Regions from separate parts of the Homo sapiens genome. Here all the other regions are linked to region 2. The links are contacts of gene promoters, found by promoter capture Hi-C in blood cells and fetal thymus (Javierre and others, 2016). All regions are on one chromosome and are shown on one strand. Each heading gives the region's core, a stretch centred on a gene start or on the middle of the fragment in contact. The rest is flanking DNA. Distances are from core to core; before and after follow the strand shown. Region 1 overlaps MYH13 (myosin heavy chain 13). Region 2 holds the start of DHRS7C (dehydrogenase/reductase 7C). Region 3 overlaps MYHAS (myosin heavy chain gene cluster antisense RNA).

The links. The method cuts DNA at HindIII sites, captures the fragments that hold promoters and counts their contacts. A CHiCAGO score of 5 or more calls a contact.
Region 1: a fragment that was not itself captured here is called in contact with the fragment with the promoter of DHRS7C in region 2 in 1 of 17 cell types (neutrophils); the score reaches 5.0 in neutrophils.
Region 3: a fragment that was not itself captured here is called in contact with the fragment with the promoter of DHRS7C in region 2 in 1 of 17 cell types (monocytes); the score reaches 5.0 in monocytes.

What each region holds. Positions count from the first base shown.
Region 1 is chr17:10,305,939-10,310,075 of GRCh38, forward strand. It overlaps MYH13 (myosin heavy chain 13), which reads right to left. Exons shown (of 41, transcript NM_003802.3): 34 at 3,584-3,892; 35 at 3,296-3,499; 36 at 1,001-1,126; 37 at 521-691. All of the region lies in intron 1 of LOC107985004 (a long non-coding RNA gene), which reads left to right. Among named protein-coding and RNA genes, the nearest start is that of MYH13, 65 kb to the right of the region's middle. RefSeq lists an enhancer at 3,480-3,994. The HindIII fragment of the contact is 3,024 bases long and covers 109-3,132 here.
Region 2 is chr17:9,789,648-9,793,320 of GRCh38, forward strand. It overlaps DHRS7C (dehydrogenase/reductase 7C), which reads right to left and starts at 1,945. Exons shown (of 6, transcript NM_001105571.3): 1 at 1,484-1,945. The coding sequence starts at 1,637. The HindIII fragment of the contact is 16,411 bases long and covers 1-3,673 here.
Region 3 is chr17:10,428,550-10,432,360 of GRCh38, forward strand. All of the region lies in intron 2 of MYHAS (myosin heavy chain gene cluster antisense RNA), which reads left to right. Among named protein-coding and RNA genes, the nearest start is that of MYH8, 8.5 kb to the left of the region's middle. The HindIII fragment of the contact is 721 bases long and covers 1,410-2,130 here.

The sequences.
Region 1 (4,137 bases), core at 371-2,870, 520 kb after region 2:
CAGCCTGCACTGACAGATGAGAAAAGCTGGGGAGGGAAGGAAACCTGAGATTGGGAGAAAACGGAAACTGCAGATTTTATGTAGGATGGGCTGTGTTGATCAAAGTGAAGCTTGGTCCAAAATGTAAATGCATCAAAATGAGTAATTTTATGACTGTAGAGTATATGTTAATAGTTTTTTCCATGTATGTGCGTGCATCTGAATCTGCATAGCAAATGGAATGTGAACATTAACATACATCATTATATTACATTTACTGAGGTGTGAGCATACCAAAATAGATGTGTGTGTGTGTGTGTGTGTGTGTGTGTGTGTGTGTGTGTGTGTGTGTTTTGGGGCATAGGAACAGGTGAAACAGAAAGAGGTGAGAAATGAAGCTCACAGGGAATTTTTCAAGCAGTCCTGAAACTGAATTTGCAATCTATTCATTCAGTGGCCTTTTCCCACCATCTCAGTTTCTGGACTGTGGTTCTGTCCGAGGCTGTCACTTTCAGAGTAACAGTCCTCTCAAAAACTCTACCCGGTTCTCCAGTTTCTGGATCTGCTTCTTCCCGCCCTTCAGCGCCAGTTGTTCAGCCTCATCTAGACGGTGCTGCAGGTCCTTCACCGTCTGCTCCAGGTTCTTCTTCATCCGCTCCAGGTGGGCGCTGGTGTCCTGTTCCTTCTTTAGCTCCTCAGCCATCATGGCAGCCTGGTTAAGTTCACAGGACACATCAGAGGCCCTGTCCGCCCATCCCTACCCAGAGCTTGCAGAAGAGGCGAAGGCTGGGATCATGGTGCTGAGCCTCCCCTGTCTGACTGGGGCCAGTCATTGCTGATTCCCCACAGCCTCCCCTCCCACTTTGCCACTGCTGAGACTGTACCTCATTACATCTGTCTGGGAAGCCACCACTAACCGATTGTTGTCATAAGAGATGAAACATACTTGCCACACCCTGGCTCAGAGGCCCCACTTTCTCAGTTCCAAACCCCATCTCTGAAAAGGAAGAACAGAGCTCACATCCGTGATGGCCTTCTTGGCCTTCTCCTCTGCGTTCCTGGACTCCTGGATCGAGTTCTCCACCTCTGCCTGGCACTGAGCTATGTCAGCCTCCAGTTTTTTCTTGGTATTTATCAGGCTTGTGTTCTACAAGAAGAATTAGATATCAGGGGTGTGGGTTCTATTGGGGCGCTTAAAAAAATTGGGAGAGGGTTGGCTGGGGAGGGAAGTAAATTGTGATCCTGTTCCATTTCTTATTTTTCACATGGGTGACCTGCTGGGTACAGTACTGTACATTCTTTCTTTATTCTTAACTGAACAGAAAGTCCTGAAACAGACCCAAGAATTGTACATGAAAGAATTCAGTAAATGATAAAAGTAGAATTTCAAATATTTGAGGATGGATAGATTATTCAGTAAAAAGTCTTGGAACAAGGAAATGATGATAGACATACTATATGAAATGAAAAATAATTTAAATAATCAAAATATGCCATAAATAGAATTGTAAGGGGTGACGACAAACTGGAAAACATTTGCAATGTACATTACAGAAGAAAATATTCCCTTTCTTAACATACAAATAAGGCAAATCAATTAAAAAAAGGGCAAAAACTACAAATGGGTAAAATACTAGAAGAAATTCAAATGGCCAACAAATGTGATAAAATGTTCCACCTCATTAGCAATAAAAAAAATACTAAAAACTCAGTGAGGTATGTTTCAGCAATAAAATTGGTGAAGATTTTTAAAATAAGAGCTAGAGTATTTGAGAATTTATAGAAGAGAACTCTCACACGTTTCCCCAGTGGAAATAAAAATTGGGACAACCTTGTTAAAGAACAATTTATATTACAAATACTTTTGCTGTTTGGACCTTGAAATTTCATTTTTAGAAATTTATTTACTTCTAGAAATATTAAGATTATAGTAATCATAGAAGTATATGAAAATTTAGTTATGAGGAAGTTCATCAAAATAGTCTTTCTAAAAGTAAAATTTTTATTGAGAACAATCTAAAATAACCACAGAAGACTGATTAAATGAAAGGGCCATAATATACAAGTAGAATAGCCTACTTTTCTGTCATTAAAAATCATATAGAAGACTATTTAAAGATGTCGAAGCTGGGCACAGTGGCTCATGCCTGTAATCCCAGAGCTTTGGGAGGCTGAGGCGGGCGGATCACCTGAAGTCAGGAGATCGAGACAATCCTGGCCAACATGGTGAAACCCCGTCTCTACAAAAATACAAAAATTAGCTGGGTGTGGTGACAAGCACCTGTAATCCCAGCTACTCAGGAGGCTGAGGCAGGAGAATCGCTTGAACCTAGGAGGCAGAGATTGCAGTGAACTGAGATCGCACCACTGCACTCCAGCCTGGCGACAGAAAGAGACTCTGCTCTGTCTCAAAAAAAAAAAAAAAAGATGTCAAAATATGTTCATGATTGTTAAATTCAAAAAAGAGGTTGCAAAAGATTGCTCATACTTTGACTATATATATATGTATTTATTTTTAATTAAAACTTTTTTTTTTTTTTTTTTTTTTGTAGAGACAAGGTTTTGCCATATTGCCCACGCTGGTCTCAGACTCCTGAGATCAAACAATCCCAAATTCCTGGGATTAGAGGCAAAAATATAATATTTATATAATTCACAATGGGCCTAAGAATGAGAGACCCCAGAATGTTAATAATATGCTTGACTTTTTTCTTCCATGTATTTACTTGTTTTTTCTATTTTTTTAAACAAAGGAGTTTTAAAAACTTTTATAAAAATAATTATTTTGTGTTTTTGTTGTTGTTGTTTGTTTGTTTATTTTTTTGGCAGGGTCTCCCTCTGTTGCCCAGGCTGGAGTGCAGTGGCATGATCATAGTTCATTGCAGCTTCAACTCCTGGGCTAAAGCAAACCTCCCACCTTGGCCTCCCAAAGTGCTGGGATTATAGGTGTGGCGCTGAGCCGGGTCAAAAATAATTATTTTGAAATAAAATCTTAATATTCTAAGGTTTCCACTTAAATAGTACTTCCAGGTGCCTTACGTAATAATTAATCCTTCGTTGCTCTGATTTCCCCACAACGTGCAAGATGTTTAATGTTTGGATGAGAGAAAGCTCAGAAATCTGTCAATCAAGAGTCAGTTATTCCAAGAAGCAAGCTTAAAAGAAAATTTGTCTTGACCACTAGTCTGGGAGAAACCGGGTGCTCCTTCCCACGGCGTGGGCCCTGAGTGGAGGGATAGCGGAAGCAGCTGCACGGTGCAGGAGGCGCTATCTGCCCCAGGGTGGACCTTCAGCGGAGGAGTGAGGGCCGACGCACCTGGGAGTGCAGGAGCTGCACGCGGTCGCTGGCGTCCAGCAGCTCCTGCTCTGACAGCCTGCGGGTCCGCTCCGTCTGTTCCAGGGCCACCTTCATTTCCTCCAGCTCCTCCAGCAGGAGGCCATTCCTGCGCTCCACGATGGCCAGCTGCTCCTTGAGGTCCTCATTGCTCCTCAGGGCGTCATCGAGATGCAGCTGGGAGTCCTGCAGGGGAGACCCAGAGTGAGGCCAGAGCCGCCTGGCAGGCTGGGGCCCGTCCAGGTACGCAGAGGCGGCCACCGTGCTCACCTTGAGCTGGCCCTGGACCGTGCGCAGATGCTTCTGGGTCTCTGCCATCTGGCGGTTGGAGTGGCCCAGCTGAATCTCCATCTCATTAAGGTCTCCCTCCATCTTCTTCTTTAGCCTCAGGGCGTCGTTCCGGCTGCGGATTTCAGCATCCAGCACGCTCTGCAGGGCCTCTGCTGCCCGCTGGCTGTTTCTTTTTAGCTGCTCGATTTCTTCATCCTTCTCAATGACCTTGCGGTCTAGCTCGGATTTCACCTGGCTCAGCTCTAGCTGCACGCGCAAGATCTTGCTCTCCTCGTGTTCCAAGGAACCCTGACGAAAGCAAAGGAGTGATTGAGAGTGCCGTGGACATCCACCTTCATGAATGGGTATTTTCATCCCCATACGATCAAATGGGTATGCGTTTTTTTAAAAAAATTAAATTTAAATTTTTTTTTTTTTTTGGTAGAGACAGGGTCTGTGTTGCCCAGGCTGGTCCTGAACTCCTGGGCTCCAGTGATCCTCTCTCCTTGGCCTCCTAAAGTGTTGGGATTACAGGTGTGAGCCATGGTGCCCAG
Region 2 (3,673 bases), core at 695-3,194:
TCAGGACAGGCTCCAGGGTAGAGGCCGTATCAGGGATCGCATGTTAGCAGCCTGGTGCAATGCCAGACAAAGGTGCGCTATTTGGAGAGCAAATTTTTCGCAAAGCCTTCTGTTCTGAATAGCTTTAGGTGGGCATCTCTTTTCCAGCTCTCCAGGGCGGCACACTCCCTGTTGTCTTTTGTCTGGTCTGATTGACAGATGTGTGTGCCCTGGCTTGCCCTTGAAGAAGGAGTTTGAGTTTGTGTACCTCGCTCCCTTTTGATACAGGATATCCTCTCTGGGAATTGTGTGTGAGACTCATCTAGGGGCCACTTAGAGAGCCTAGTCTATCTGCCTTATGCTTTGTTTTTTATCTTAACAAGATGCACCTGGGTCGATCACCCACTGAAAACTAAGCCATCCTCAAAGCGTGCAGATTGGCTCCCATTGGGATGCCGAAGAGGCTAAGCAGCAGGCTCTGAGAAAATTCTCAGGGAGGTTACAAACGTTCTCACGATGGCAGCACTATGAGAGTAAGTGCCCAGCCCCCCAGAGGGACTCTCGGGGCAATGCTCAGGACATAGTGGACTCAGTGGACACTTACTGAGTTACTAATGAATGTTTGGCTGTGTGGGATCTATGCTCTATTAAAAATAATAAAAACAACAGCAAAAGTTGCACTAACTATGTAACATATAAAGTTGTACTACCATTGTCTGGAAGGATAGAGTCAGAATCTTGCAAACTTAAGGACAATTACGGCCCCTCATGTCATAGATGTCACCAGCAGAAGGGCCTCTCTGAGGTGATATAATTCAGGAGTTGCAAATGCAAATGCCTTCAATGCCAGAAAGTGTAATGATTGAAAGAATCAGGCCAAGTGTGATGCAATAGGGATGGGTGGGGTGTGTGGCCCACTAGCGTGGGCATGTTTTGCCTATATGTGTTCATGATCATCATTACTAACCCTTGAGTGATATCCACTGTAGCTCCAGGTACTGTTCTAAGTGCTATCCATCTATGAACTCGTTTATTCCTCACAATGGCAGCATGAGGTAGAGACTGCTGTTATCCTCGCCTTACAGATGAGAAGTTTAAGGCAGAGAAGTGAAGTAACCAGCTAGTCATTGCTGGAGCCAGGAACTGAACCCAGCTCCTGAGTCTGGGCTCACAACCAGTACATTGCCCCAGCTAAAGGCTTTGAATTTTCAAAATTTCTGGAAACCCCATGAAGCCAAAACAAATCACATCTGCAGACCAGTTTTAGCCCTTAGGCTGTGAGTTTGCAACCCTAGATATTCCACCACCCTCATTTATCAGGAATCTGCAGCCTCCAAAAGATGGGAAACTTGCTGGTTAATGATAGAAGCTGGGAGAGAACACAGGATCGATCCCCTCCCACCGAGCAGGTTTGCCCACACAGCGCCCTGCCGCCCTGCCACCCTGCCATCCTGCCAGTCCCTGGGGGCAGAAATGGGCACAGGTGGGAGCAAAGCCAGCTTACCCTTGCCCAGTCCTGAGATGGCATCGGTGATCACCACCACTTTGTTCTGCACAGCTGACTTTGACCACAGCCTGGACACCTCTTGGTAAATGAAGAGGAGGCCGCTGATTCCCAGCAGCAGCAGGGGGAGCATCAGCATGGCCATGACTCCCATCTTGTTCTGGGGGACAACGGAGTAAAAGGGGATTGGCTTTGCAAAGAGACGCTGATCAGGACTCCCAGGGCAGGGGGAGGCCCAAGGCTGCAGGGAGCTCAGCTCTGTGCAAGCCTCCAAGCTGAACACCCAGTGGGCGTGCTAATCCCCAAATGTTCAACAAATAGGAAGTTACTCACAGTGTCTCCGAAAGCAGACCGAATCCAGGGGGCCTGCCCTCCCCAGTGGTTAATTACAAACTTAATTAAAATGGGTCTGCATTTTTGGAAGAAAATCCATGTGTTAAGGCCACTTGCTTGGGCCCTAATGGTTATTTATAGCTTTCAGTTGCACTAAAAGGCTGTCAGGGTAAATATAGTGTCTATTCTGATATTCAGGAACACATGCTGGCCGGGTCTGATTTCAGGGCTCTTGCCAAAGCTCTCCTGGCTTGCCTGAGTATTAGAGGTTTCCTCTGCAGTTTGGGACTGAGCACGAGGGATCCAAACCTGGGATTTTCAGCACAAACATCCTTGCCCTCACTTCCGGTAACCCTCGTAATCAGGTAGCTTCCAGGTAGTTTGGATGCATGTGGCAGAAGACCATCTGGCCTTTGCTTTCTAATTGGAGATGAAAAGCATAGAAAACTGCTAAACAGAATGAAGCCTTTTGCAGAAAGAGCCACTGGGAGGTGTGACAGGAAATATCAGAAAGAGCACACTCTTGAGAGTGTTTCTCACCTCTCTGAGCCTTAGCTTCCCTGTCTGTAAAATGGGCAGGACCAATGGGAGGACAAACCATACTGCACAGTGTGGGCCTAGCATAGATCCCGGGCCGTAGGAAGGTAACTACTGTTATCTTTAGCGGTTGAGGATACTAAGAATTTATCCCAAATGTGAAATATTTTCATTACATAAGGAAACTCAGTAGGATTAGAACTGGAGAGACAGAAACCCAGTTCAAGTACTGGAGCCATCCCAAACCAGAAGGCCAATCACAATCAGGTCCTAATTTGTGCGGTAAACAGCATTGAGCCAATCAGGAGTAGGACTAAGAGCAGTGTGTGTGCATGTGTGTGTGTGCGCGCATGTGTGTGTGTGCATGTGTGTGTGCGTGTGTGCGTGCGTGTGTGTGTGCGCACCTGTGTGTGTGCACGTGTGTGTGTGTGTGTGTGTGCGTATGTGGGGGGGGTAAAGAAGACTGTATTTCTTTCTTGGAAATTAGAAATAACCAGGAAGATTAAAAAAGTCCCAGAATTTTATTGACACTTAATGTACATATTAGAAACACACACGTAAATGTAGAGCTTGATGAATCTTCATAGACTGAATATATTCACGTGACCAGCATGCAGATCAAGAAACAGAACATTGCCAACATGCCTCATCATGTCTCTCTCCAGCCCTGAGGGTAGCTACTTCCTAACTTTTAAAAGCGTATATACAGTTTTACCTGTATGTGTATTTTCTTTGCTCAAACAACCTCTTGTGTAAAGTTTTTCTTTTTTTTTTTTTTTTTGAGACAGTCTTGCTCTGTCACTAGGCTGAGGTGCAGTGGCACGATCTCGGCTCACCGCAACCTCCACCTCCTGGGTTCAAGCAATTCCCCTGCCTCAGCCGCGCCGAGTACCTGGGACTACAAGCCCCCACCACCACGCCCGGCTAATTTTTGTATTTTAGTAGAGACGAGGTTTCACCATATTGGCCAGGATGGTCTCAATCTCCTGACCTTGTGATCCGGCCACCTCGGCCTCCCAAAGTGCTGGAATTATAGGCATGAGCCACCGTGCCTGGCCAAGTTTTTTTTAAATAAATTATTATCTGTGTTCAATGCTGCTGATTGGTCAAGTAACGTAGGGTCTGAGAAGTGCCTGTCAGCTTTAGTGATGTGGAGTCATTGGTGACATTGACGGGCACCTCTGTGTGAAGACTATTGTGTGGTTTCTGCTCTCCCTCAGACTTACTGTCAGTGGCTCTGTCATGAGCCAACCCTGCAAGATGGTTCCTGACTCATCCAAACCCCCGGGACTTGATGCTTTGAAAGCATCTGCCTACCTG
Region 3 (3,811 bases), core at 520-3,019, 640 kb after region 2:
AAAATAGCCAAAAGATAGAAATAGATAATTCATGGAAGAGGCAATACATATGGCTAATAAACATGAAAACATGCTCAATCTCAAGAGGTACAAAATAAAATAACAAAGAGCTAGTGTATTTTACCCATCAAGTTGGCAAAAAAAAAATAATAATGGTAGCAAATGGTGGTGCAGAGAGGTGAATGTAATATGTTGTGAGTAAAGGTGTAAATTTCCAGGGCAATTTGTTATATCTTTTGAAATTTAAAATTGCAGTGATTTCACTTCTCACTTTCTTTCCTGCAGAAGCACACTGAAATAGGAAGGATGCTCAAGAGTGTACATTTAACATTTCTTCTAATAGCAAAATTTTGGAAACAACTGTCAATTCAGTTACTTGTAAGTTAATTAAGTGGCCACCTGTTAAGTGGTGGTGCTCCGATGATGTGGTCAGTGGTTGAAACTTGAAACTCGCCTTAATCTAAGATTTGGATCAGCATAATGCATTTTCCACTGGTTCTCTTTGAGATATACTGAAAACTGAAAATCTTATTTAAAATAACAATAAACAATGAAGTAAAGAGTTTTTATAGGTAACATATATAAGAATACTAAACTGGGAGATATATTTTGCTAAAGCCTAATTATTGGTATATTTCAACCCTTCTGTAATGTACAGATATCTCTTCTACCATTCTTGTGTGACAACTCATTTATTTTAACTTAGAGTAAAGGCCCTTCCAAGGGTCTGGCTTACATCCCTTGTCCTTGCTCTTCTTCGCTAGTATCCACTTACAATTAAGCCGAGGGTGAACATTAAGTTACCGTATCCAATGACCCTTCTGCTCTAAGAGTCCTTGCCAGAAATTAGCTTACAATTCCTAAGATTTCCTCTGCCCTAAGAGTTCCTCTATTTTCTCTCTGCAGTGAGTAAAAGCAGATGAATTACAGCCACTTTAAGACATCTCTACCTTTTCTAAAACTCTGTAATTATATTCTCTTCAACCAAAGGAAACAACTGACCTTTCATATGACTCATGCCAAAGAGGAATGTTATTTAGATTCATCCACATTCTTGCATGTATCAGTAGTTCATTTCTTTTTATTGGGGAGTAGTACTCCGTTGTGAGGATGTACCATATTTTATTCATCTGTTCTCTTGCTGGTATATATTTTTTATCTTTTTATAGACATATCTTTCATTTCTTTCAGTTAAATAACAAGGAGTGGAATTGTTGGATCAAGAGGTAGGTGTCTAGTAACTGTACTGTTTTACATCCTCGCTAGTGATATATGAGCAATGTGGTTGCTCAGTGTCATTAGTCTTTATAAATTTAGCCATTCTTGTTGGTTTGTAGTGGAATCTCTTTGTGGTTTTAAAATGTATGTCCCTAGACAATGATATTGAGCAACTTTTAGTTTTGTTATTAAGCTTTCATATATTCTCTTGATGAAATGTCTGTGTTTTGCCCATTTTTGTTGGATTATTTTTAAAGAATATTGTTTTGTTTGTGTTCTTTATAAGTCATTTTTTCAGTATATGTATTGCATATATTTTTTTTAGTAGGTGGCTTGCCTTTTTGTGTTCTTAACAGTACTTTGATGAGCAGTAGCTTTAACTTTGAAGAGGACCAGTTTTATCATTTTTTCTTTCATATTTAGTGCTTGCTGTGTTCTGTTTAAGAAATTTTGCACGAGATTACAAAGATACTCTCCTATATTTTCTTCTAGGAGATGTATAATTTTAGTATTTACATTTAAATCTGTTGTCTACCTTGAATTAATTGTTGTGTATGCGTTATTATTTTTTTCCATACAGATGTCTAATTGATCCATCATCATTTGTTGCAGAGACTTTTCTTTCCACATTGAATTGCATTAGCAACTTAGTAAAAAGTCCACTATATACATATTGGATCTATTTCCAGACTCTCCATTCTACTCTATTCTGTTCCATTCAAGTATTCTTCTACCCTTACACTAATACCACACTATCTTAATTACTGTAGCTTTGTAATAAATTTTAAAGTCTGTAGAGTAAGTTCTCCAATTTTATACTACTTACTTTTTAAGACTTCTTTGGCTACTGTAGGTACTTTATATACTTATATGCATTTTAATATCAAACTGCCAACTTCTACCAAAAAAAAAAGCTTGATAGGATTTTGATTAGGGTTACACTAAAACTATAGATCAATTTGTGGAAAACTGACAGATTTACAATATTGAGACTTCAGTCCAAGAACATGGTGTCTCTCTCTCTCCTCTCTCTTTTAGTCCCATTTTTTGACAGAAAGTGTTCACTGTTTTATTATTAAGCAAGATATCTTAGCTGTGCTTTATTTGTAGGTGCCTCTTACTAGATTGAGAAAGTTTTCTTTTATTGCTTGTTTGCTGAGAGGTTTTTTTTTCATGGATGGGTGTTGGATATTGTCAAATGCTTTACTTCATCTGTTGAGATAGTTATATGATTTTCTTTTTTATTCTGTGAATGTTATGAATTACCTGATTTTTGAATATTAAACCTACCTTGCATTCCTGTGATAAATTCCATTTGGTCATGATTTATTATTATTATTGTTGTTGTTAATATTGTTTTCATATATAGTAGGCACTGCATAATGACATTTTGGTTGACAGCGGACTGCATGTATTATGGTGGTCCCATAAGATTATAATACTGTATTTTTCCTGTACCTTTTCTATATTTAGATATGTTTAGATACACAAATACCATTCTGCTACAGTTACCTACAGTATTCTGTACGGCAACATACTGTCCAGGTTTGTAGTCTAGGAGCAGTAGGCTATACCACATAGCCCAGGTGTGTAGTAGGCTATACTGTCTAGGTTTGTGTAAGTACACTCTGTGATATTTGTACAATGAGGAAATTGTCTAATGATGCATATTTCAGAACATATCCCCATTGGTAAGCAACACACGATTGTATTGTTAGACGTTGTTGGATTTGACTTGCCAAAATTTTGTTAAGGATTTTTGCATCTATTAGGGATATTGGACTATAATTTTCTATATTGTTTTTCTATTCTCGATTTCATTAATTTCTCCTCTAGCCTCTATTATGTCCTTTCTTCTACTTGCTTTAGATTTCATTTGTTTTTCCCACCTGCTGTGCCTTAGGTGGAAAATTAGGTTATTATTTGAGCTCTTTCTTCTCTCTTTATATAGACATTTACAACTGTAAAGTTCTGTCTAAGCACTGCTTTAGCTGCATCCCATATGTTTTTGTATATTGTATATTGTATCTTCATGTTCATTCATCTCAGAGTACTTTCTGGTTTCCCTTTCGATTTTTTCTTTGACACATGATTATTTAGGAGTGTGTTGTTTAATTTCCACAAATCTGTGATTGTCTCAATTTTTTTCCTAGTATTGATTTCTAATTTCATTCCATTGTGGTCAGAGAACATACTTTGTATCATGCCTATCCTTCTAAGTTTACTGAAGTTTGTTTTATAGCCTAGCATGTGGTCTGTCCTGGAGAATGTTACATTTGAACTTGAGAAGGATGTATATTCTGTTGTTACTGGGTGGTGTGTTCTATAGATATCTGTTAGGTCTATTTGGTTTATAGTGTTTTTCAAGTCTTCCTTTTTTTCTTATTGATCTTCATTAATTGTTACATCCATTATTGAAAGTGGGTTATTGACATCTTCAATCATTATTGTGGAATTGTCAGTTTCTCCCTTTATTTCTGTCAGTTTTTGATTCATATGTTTTGGTGCCTCTGCTATTAGGCGCAAATATATGTATAAGTATTATGTCTTCCTGATGGGCTTATCCTTTTATTATTTTTTCATTATAAAATGT